Regions from separate parts of the Homo sapiens genome. Here all the other regions are linked to region 3. The links are contacts of gene promoters, found by promoter capture Hi-C in blood cells and fetal thymus (Javierre and others, 2016). All regions are on one chromosome and are shown on one strand. Each heading gives the region's core, a stretch centred on a gene start or on the middle of the fragment in contact. The rest is flanking DNA. Distances are from core to core; before and after follow the strand shown.

Region 1 (2,700 bases), core at 53-2,552, 330 kb before region 3:
GTCCTGCCAGGAAGGGCCGCCCCCCCAACATTTCCAGATTGCCTCTGTCCCTCCACTCTGGGGTGCCTGGAAGGACTGTCCAGGACCCAGAGAGCAGGCAGAGCCCTGGATTCCTATCCTGGAATCCTCCCCCAGGATGAAGAAGCTCTGCCTGCCTGAACCCTCCAGCGATGGGCCTGGAGTCCTGTCCCTGTCCTTTCCTTAATCCCCAGCCTCTGGATCTTCCAGTCACCCCGGCTTTGCCCACCCTCACCCCATTTAGAAGCTGGGCTCGCTAGGAAACTGCTCCCTTAGCATCTGCAGAACTTCCTCAAGAAGTGAAATCCCCAGGTCCACTTTGAAGGAGAGGAAGGGATCACTGAGGTCTGGGGTAGGTGTCCTCTGGAAGCAGGGAGTGTCCACAAGGCCCTTCTCTGAGTGCTGGTGGAGGGCACTCGACAGAGAGAGCGCCGATGGCAGGGTGGCAGAGTAGGCTGCTGTGTAGGCAGGTGGGGGCTCCAGGATGTTGGGGCAGCTTGAGCTCTCTCGGTAGAGGCGTGGGGGCTTGGGTGGGGCCAGCAGGGTGGCCCGGGGCTGCTCGTCCCCCCACAGTGGCAGGCGCCGGCCATCTGGCCTCCCTTGTAGCTCCCGGATGACTTCTCGGTTGCTGTACTCCTCGTGGTCCCCACCTGCTGTGCTGGCCTGGCTAAGCACACTACTCTGTCGCCGGAGCCGCCGTGGCCGCCCCAGGCTCAGCTGCTTGAAGAAGGAGGCGTTGCGGAAGGAGCCTTTCCGCCAGGTCTCCATGGGGCCCAGGGGAGCCAGCAGACAGGTGTTCAGGAGCAGCCAGGGTGCATGTGGTCCCTGCTGGGGCAGTGAGTGCCAGCAGCTGGGGAGGCTCCCCTAGGAGCAGAGGCCTCAGGGTTTCCACTCAGCACAGACCTTTGACCACATCTTGGATGGTGAGAGGAGGGCTCAGGAAGAAGGAACTTTTTTGCCCAGGAGAGCAGACAGCTGGGAGTTCCTGGCAGCAAGAGTTTCCCACAGGGACAGGAGTGGCCTGGTTACTGAATAGGGTAGTGGAAAAAAACCCAGGAGGAAGAAGCAGCACTTACTGGAGCCAGAATGAGGGCAGCTCCGGCGGAGGCAGAGGTGGACCTTCTCGGGCTGGGTGAGGCTGGCGAGCGCTCCTTCCACAGGCAGGCAGCAGATGGCCCGAGCTCACTCGCCCTGGTGTTTGCCTGGCTCCTATATGTCTCTGGGGCAGTGTGGGGCCGTGCCCTCTCTGCCAGTGGCTCCCGGACTCTGATGAGTGGCCTGGCTGTTTGTGGCGGTGGAGATGTGTTTTTGTTCTCAGCTGACTCAGTCAGGTGGGAAGCCAGGTTTCGTGCTCTTGGGTAATTGCAGCATCCGCGTGCAGGGATGGGGCAGCTGGGACCAACACCCCAGGGCAATGGGGAGCTTAAGATTCCTCTGGGGACTCGTGTGGGGGCAGCCCTGCTTTATGTGTCACCACGCGGCTTCCTTTCTGATCACAGCCCCACCACCCTGGGCCCCCAGCAGGTGCGCCTGGCTCCCTGCCCACAGTGTCTGGGTAGGAAGAGTTCGGGGCGGGTGGGAGTTAATTGAAAGGCAGGCGTGTGGAACGATTGTTGGGGAAGGAAGAGACCTGTAGCTGGTATGGGTGACTCAGCCCCGCTGTCAGGCCCTCACGAGCAGGAACAGGAAGGGGGGCAGAGGGTGTGTTAATGGGGAGCAGCGCCATGCCTGTGATGGGCGGGCTCTGCTGCCCAGGGTTGGGCTGGGGGCCCGCCAAGGGTGGCTCCAAGTTTTCTTGGCAGAGCAGCATTAACCTGGGGATGGGAGATGTGGCCTCCTCTTGGCCTGCCATCAGCCTGGCTGCTATTTCCTTGTCCTCCCTTGTTTTACCCTAGAGGGCTCCTGCCAGGAGAGCGGCTGCTGAAGGCCGGGCCGTGTTGCCTCCTACCTGGCTGTGCTCCAGCCCTTCCCCTCTGGCTACCGGGCTTCCTCTGGGGTCCTCCTTCTCTTGCAGGAGGCTGGGCCAGGGAGGCTGCCGTGAATTGTCAGCCGTGCTCTGGGCCAGGCTTAGCAGTCCGGCCTAGCTGGGACTGCTGCAGCCGGGGAGAGGGGAGGGGTGCAGCCATCGGGAGGAACAGGGGAACCCAGGCTGAGTAACACTTCCTGTTTCTCTACACCCCTTACTCCAAACCTGCTGGCCAGGGCCTGGCATCTCAACCCTAGCTGCTCCCTTCCTATTCCCCGGGTCACTGACCACCACATTTTCCTCCTGCCTTGCTCTGTGACAGCGTCCCCATGCGGGGTACCGCGGATCAGGGCCCCACAGCTCTCTGCTACGGGCAGGCCACCGCATCTTGCAATCCCTGGCCTAGCTCACTTCTGTGCCAACTCAGGTGTGCTTCACACTTCTCTGAGAAGCTGTTGGGACCACATGATCATCACACAGCCTAAGCGGCACCGAGGGAGGAAAAGGTTTAATTCCCACCGCAGACCTTATCAGGGCGTGGGTTGGCAGCTTAGGTCCCGCTGTAGAGCTGCTTCTCCACCCTACAGCCTTGGCCCATTCAGATGGTTGTTTATTATTCTTTTGATTATGGGCCCTGCCCTCCAGGAGCCCTGGTGTGTAGTTTTAGAGGCACGCTGGCCTCATGCTTGCCTTTTTCCCCTTCGAGGGTGGGGCAT
Region 2 (2,700 bases), core at 118-2,617, 350 kb before region 3:
TTTTTTGAGATGGAGTCACTCTGTCACCCTGGCTGGTGTGCAGTGGTGCGATCTTGGCTCACTGCAACCTCCCCCTCCCAGGTTCAAGCAATTCTTCTCCCTCAGCCTCCCGAGTAGCTGGGTCTACAGGCACACGCCACCATACCCAGTTAATTTTTGTATTTTTAGTAGAGATGGGGTTTCACCATGTTGGCCAGGCTGGTCTCAAAACTTCTCACCTCAGGTGATCGCCTGCCTTGGCCTCCCAAAGTGCTGAGATTACAGTCATGAGCCACCGCACCCAGCTTTTTAAAATTTTTTTTGTAGCCTCAATATATTACCACATTATTTATTTGTTTATTTATTTATTATGGTTTTTTAGAGGCAGGGTCTCCCTACATTGTCCAGGCTGATCTCAAACTCCTGGGCTCAAGGGATCCTCCCACCTTGGCCTCCAAAAGTGCTAGGATTACAGGCATGAGTCACCGCACCCGGCCTATTTTTTTTTATTTATTTTAAGTTATTTTTTCCAAGCCTGGTTTCACTTGAAGATAGTTGTTCTTCACCAAGGGCCTGACCAGCTCTGGGTGGATCTAGCAGCTGGTCTCTAAGTCCTCTCAGTATCTCCAAGTCCCCTCAGTATCACTCTTCACCAAAGCTGTCTGGCTGAAGCTCTGGATTTTTGAAGTTACTTAGGTGCCTGTTAAGTCAAAAGGAATGATTCATTTGTGTTTGTAAGCTGTAAGCGATTCATTAACATTCAAGATAATACCTCACATTTCTATGACACCAAAGTGCTTTCACATAAATTATCTCATTTGATGAGACCTTGAAAGCAAGCCTGTGAGGTGGTCAAGGACTACTGGCACCAATTCCTAGATGTGGAAACAAAGACTCCAAGAATTTAAGTGATTCGCCCAGCATAAGGTGGCTGGTACTGCCACCTTATTTTATTTTTATTTTATTTTTATTTGGAAAGAGAGTCTCGCTGTGTCGCCCAGGCTGGAGTGCAGTGGCACGATCTTGGCTCACTGCAACCTCCGCCTCCTGGGTTCAAGTGATTCTCATACCTCAGCTTCCCAAGTAGCTGGGATTACAGGCATGTGATGCGCCACCATGCCCAGCTGATTTTTATATTTTTAGTAGAGACGGGGTTTCACCATGTTGGCCAGGCTGATCTCAAACTCCTGACCTCAAGTGATCCACCCGCCTCAGCCTCCCAAAGTGTTTGTATTACAGGCGTGAGCCTCTGCGCCCGGCCCACACCTGAATTTTCTACTCCTCTTTGAGAACTTTTTCCGTGACCCACACTTCAGGACCAATTAGAGCAACAGGAGACGGGTCTGTGGGCCCCAGAGAGTCTCGCAGCCCCATCTGTAACACAGATAGAGATTTTACCTGCCTGGGACTTGGGTAAACCCAGCAGGTAGTAAGCTGCTCTGAACAGCTTAAGGAACTGTGTTAAGATTTGTGTTAAAACTACCATAGCACAGTTTCCATTTCCTTGAAGTTAGTGGCATTCAAAATGTTTTCCATTTGCATAGCGCTTTCCCTATTTTTGCTGTTCGTAAGTATTGTTATTTAGTTATTTTCACTAAATCAACTCATTTCTTTTCTTTTCTTTTTTTTTTTTTTTTTTTTTTTTTTTTGAGACAGTCTGTCTCTGTCTCCCAGGCTGGAGTGCAGTGGCGCAATCTCGGCTCACTGCAAGATGCGCCTCCCGGGTTCACGCCATTCTCCTGCCTCAGACTTCCGAAATCAACTAATTTCTTTTTACTAATACAAATTTGTTTATAAAGGAAACAATGCATTAAGGGAAGACAGAAATGAATGAGGTGTAGGAAGTACCAGGGCCCAGAGGGAAGGAGTTCTACCCCCTGGGAAAGGGCAGAGACTGGGCAGAGGAAGTGGTTCTGGGGCTAGAGACCCAGGCCTCTAGGAGTTAAGAGTGACAGCAGGCAGTGGGGAGACGTTTCTGGCAGATCTGGGCATGAGAATCTACAAGCTGAGAGAAGGTAGGAAAGGCTTTTGGGGTCTGAGCCTAATATAGCGGTGGTTAGGATAAGGTTAAAAGGGAGGAGGTGGGCCAGAGAGCAGGGTGGTATCTGAGGAGGAGAAAGAGGGCTGTAGACTGGGTTTCAAGTGGGCTGGTTTGGGGAAGTGGACCGAGGAGAGCAGGATAGGAGGGAGTACTGTGGGGGAGTGAAGGAAGGGGGACCTGGAGATGAGATCCGGGGGGATGGGAGGAGCTAAAGAGTGGCCTCAGGATTGGCTGAGGAACCAGAGCCCAAAGGGCGTACAAGGGCCATCATTTGGGGAGAAGCAGGCCAGGCTCCGTGTGTGGTCCCAGCTGTTCTAGGTGGCACAGGCCCCTGTTCTGAGACTGAACCATGGGCCATGGCTATCAGCCTGAGAGGGATGTCAGTGTGAGGCCCAGGTTCTCTGGTATTATCTTGGTACCACCAGCAGGCCCATGTTTTGGGAGCATTGAGCTGAGGGGGCTGTCTGGGGTTGGCCAGCTCTCTGCTTGTGCCAAGCCTTGGGAGCAGCCCATAGGTTGTACAGTGCCCAGGCATTTGGGGACTTCTCTGTAGTGCTGTCCCAATAGGGGTCACAGGCTGTAAGGAATGAAAGGATCAATCTTTCAGGCACAGGGAACTTCTCTTTTATTTTTATTTATTTATGTTTATTTAAAGAGATGGATCTCACTCTGTTGCCCAG
Region 3 (2,844 bases), core at 187-2,686:
CCACTTCCCAGAGCCTCGAGGCCAACAGCGAGCGGCTAGAGCGGCAAGCCAGTGCCGCAGCTCCTCCCGGCGGGCGCCCCGGCCCCCGCAGTCCCCGGGGCAGAGTCCGGCCCCGTCGCCCGCCCCTCGGAGTGGGTGCCTCGGACCCGCTCCCCTCCCCGACGCCACCACCTGCGCCCGCTCCGGCGCCGCCTTTGTCCGGCGCTTCACCGCCAAGCGAGCCCCTCGGGCCCGACCTGACCCGGCCCCCAGCCCCAGAAGAGAGGCGGCGGAGCGAGCAGGGCAAGACCAGGCCGGGCCGCGAGCACAGGGTCCCGCTGTCACTTGGAGGCGGTCTGACAACTTCGATTCCCCCCGCCACACCTCGGACTCGGCCGCCGCCCCGCAAGGTCCCCGCAGGGCCTCCCGCGGCCCACACTCGCTTTTCGAACCGGTCCCCTTCCGTCTTCGGCGCCTCCCTTCCTCTCAGCCCGATCGAGTCGGGTCTACACTACTCCCCCCTGCCGCCCCCGGCCCGGCGCGGCCCTCATCCCCTGCCCCCCATCCAGCAATAACCGGTCAGCTCCCAGCGCGGGAGGGCGCCCCCCACCCTGAGCGGGCGATCCCGCGGCGCCGCCCCCGGCCGCGGCCCCTTGCCTCGGGGACCGCGATGGGGGAGGGGGCGCGGCGGGGGCCTCGCCGCCCGCGCACTCGGAGGCGAGCCGGCTCCGCCGCGGCGAGGAAAGACCGGCGTCCTCCCGCCCTCCGCAGCTCGGGACGCCCGCGCCGCCGCCGCCCGGCCGAGCTGCCACCCTGCGGCCGCCACCCACCCCGCCCCCGGCCTGCAAGGCGGGCGGCCCCCGGGGGCTGTCACCTCGAGGCGCGCCGCGTTCCCCGATGGCGGGACCGTGGTGCCGGACCCAGGGGAGGGAGGTGGCGCGAGCGGGCGGGCGGCCGCACCTGCTTCGCGTCGTCCGTCCGTCCGTCCCTTCCCGGGCTGGCGGGGGCGGTGGCGCGGCGCGCTCGGTGGGGCGCGCTGACGGGCGGCCGGTGCTCTCCCCCTTCGCTCTTCTGCCTACCTCGCTCGCTCCCTCCCTCCAGCTCGCCCCTTCCCCCTCCTCGACCCCGGCCCCTGACTCACCAGAACGGGCGGCGCGGACGGCGCGGCTCTGGGCGCCCGCAGGCCCCGGCCGGGCTGGAATCCGGCGGCTGGAACCCCCCGGGGGCGCTCAATTCCCGGGCTCCACGCTGCTGCGTCAGCGCCTCCTCCTGGGGGCCGGGGCCGGGCGGGCGGAGCGGGGACCGCGGCCGGGCGGGGCCGTCGGGGGGGGCGGGCGCGCCTGGCCGGGGCGGGCGGACGGCGGGGGCCGGACGGGCGGGGCAGGCAGCCGGACGGGCGGGCGGCGGGGGCCGGGCTCCGGGATCCGCTACGCCGCTCGCGGTTCCCCCACAAACTCCCCGAGAGCGGAGCCTCCGCCGCCCTCCTTCCTGCTTCCTCGTCCCCAGCCAATCAGCAGCGCGCCCCTCGGCCAGCTCCGCCAATCAGCCGCCCCGCCCTGCGCTGGCTCCGCCAGCCAATCCGGCCCTCGGCTCCCCCTCCCGGTCTCTGACCAATCAGAACCGTGGGTCGGTCGTCCCAACGCAGGGGGCAGCACGAGGCGGCCGGGGGAGGCGGTGCGGGGAGTGGTGGGGCCTTGGGGGAGGGGTGCCGTGCCAAGGGTGGTGGCAAGGGGTGATTTTCTTTGCCGGCTTCTTGGATTTTTCTCTTCGTCTTCAGAACCTGAGCCCGTATCCCACGGTGACTCGACCCCAATCTCCCAGCTGCTAGCCCCCCCGGAAAAATCTTATCTCCCCCCGCCCTGGCCATCACCCCTCCGCATCCCCTTTCCCCCAAATCCTCCCCAGCACGCGCTGGAGAAAACTGCGGGCCGAGGAACACCCCATCCTCGCCGGAGGCTGCTGCCCCCAGGGCAAAGCTTCAGGAAGACCAGCCGAAAATCAAGCGAGAACAACCCCCCTTTCCTGCAGAAAGGGCCCCAGACTCCTGCAAAAGGGCCCCGACTGCTGAGAAGCCCCTCCCGCCCTTGCCTCATCTTTCCGACTTCCCTGCCTGCCACGTCTCCTTTCCTTTCCAGCAAGGTCGGTCCTGGCTCGGTAACCCCTCACCCGCATCTCTTTTTCCTCTTTCTGCCCTTCACCTACCGCCCCCAACCCCAGCTCCTAATTCACCCTCTTCAGAAGCAGAGTGTGGAGCCCTCATCCATTTCCAGCTGACAGCAGAGCCTGGTCTGTGAGTCCTTGACACCCACACACCCTCTTCCACCACCGCGGGGAACATCAGAGCTCTCCGGGGGAGGGAGAAAGGGGCGGGCAGCCTGACAGGAGCGGCTGGACTCCCTCCCTCGCGTCCCCAAGCTACGGGAGAACCAAGTGTAGACACTTACCTGGCTTCCCCCTAGTCACCAAATGCTGTGGCTCCGTCTCTCACCCCCACAGACGTGCCCTCCCAAGCCCGAGCACGCTCGCGGGGTCAGTGGGGTGGGTGGGCACAGCAGGCTAAGGGCACAGAGAGAGATGGGAAGTCCCTGTTAGGTGCGGGAAGGAGCTGTGTCTTGGGCACCTGGTGGTGCCAGAGCCCGCCTAGGACTTCACTAAGCCCGGGATATGCACACAGTAGGTTCTCGAGAAATGCTGAGTTCACCCCTGAACAAAGCCTCATTCCCAATTCAGGCGGGGGAGGGGAGCTTTAGGAGGTAAAAGGAGCAGCGGCAGAAAGGGTAGTGTCAAGTCACCAGAGCGCTGGAGCAGCCCAGGGAGGGGCTGGGCCCCAGGAACGCCTTGGGCAGAGAGAGGCACCCAGAGTGC

The links. Contacts are between HindIII fragments. The CHiCAGO score rates a contact against its expected background, and 5 or more counts as called.
Region 1: the fragment with the promoter of C15orf62 here is called in contact with the fragment with the promoter of BAHD1 in region 3 in 1 of 17 cell types (naive B cells); the score reaches 6.3 in naive B cells.
Region 2: a fragment that was not itself captured here is called in contact with the fragment with the promoter of BAHD1 in region 3 in 1 of 17 cell types (naive B cells); the score reaches 5.8 in naive B cells.

The regions. Positions count from the first base shown.
Region 1 is chr15:40,768,582-40,771,281 of GRCh38, reverse strand. C15orf62 (chromosome 15 open reading frame 62) reads right to left here and starts at 1,302. Exons shown (of 1, transcript NM_001130448.3): 1 at 1-1,302. The coding sequence starts at 786. The coding sequence ends at 259. All of the region lies in intron 10 of DNAJC17 (DnaJ heat shock protein family (Hsp40) member C17), which reads left to right. RefSeq lists enhancers at 169-785, 743-832, 786-1,404, 2,023-2,641. The HindIII fragment of the contact is 5,370 bases long and covers 1-2,700 here.
Region 2 is chr15:40,788,832-40,791,531 of GRCh38, reverse strand. The region is part of intron 1 of DNAJC17 (DnaJ heat shock protein family (Hsp40) member C17); the gene reads left to right. Among named protein-coding and RNA genes, the nearest start is that of ZFYVE19, 17 kb to the left of the region's middle. The HindIII fragment of the contact is 4,448 bases long and covers 1-2,700 here.
Region 3 is chr15:40,439,545-40,442,388 of GRCh38, reverse strand. BAHD1 (bromo adjacent homology domain containing 1) reads right to left here and starts at 1,436. Exons shown (of 7, transcript NM_014952.5): 1 at 1,121-1,436. RefSeq lists silencers at 11-80, 101-220, 941-1,000, 1,449-1,634, 1,061-1,730 and enhancers at 386-885, 886-1,387, 2,193-2,730. The HindIII fragment of the contact is 2,346 bases long and covers 1-1,957 here.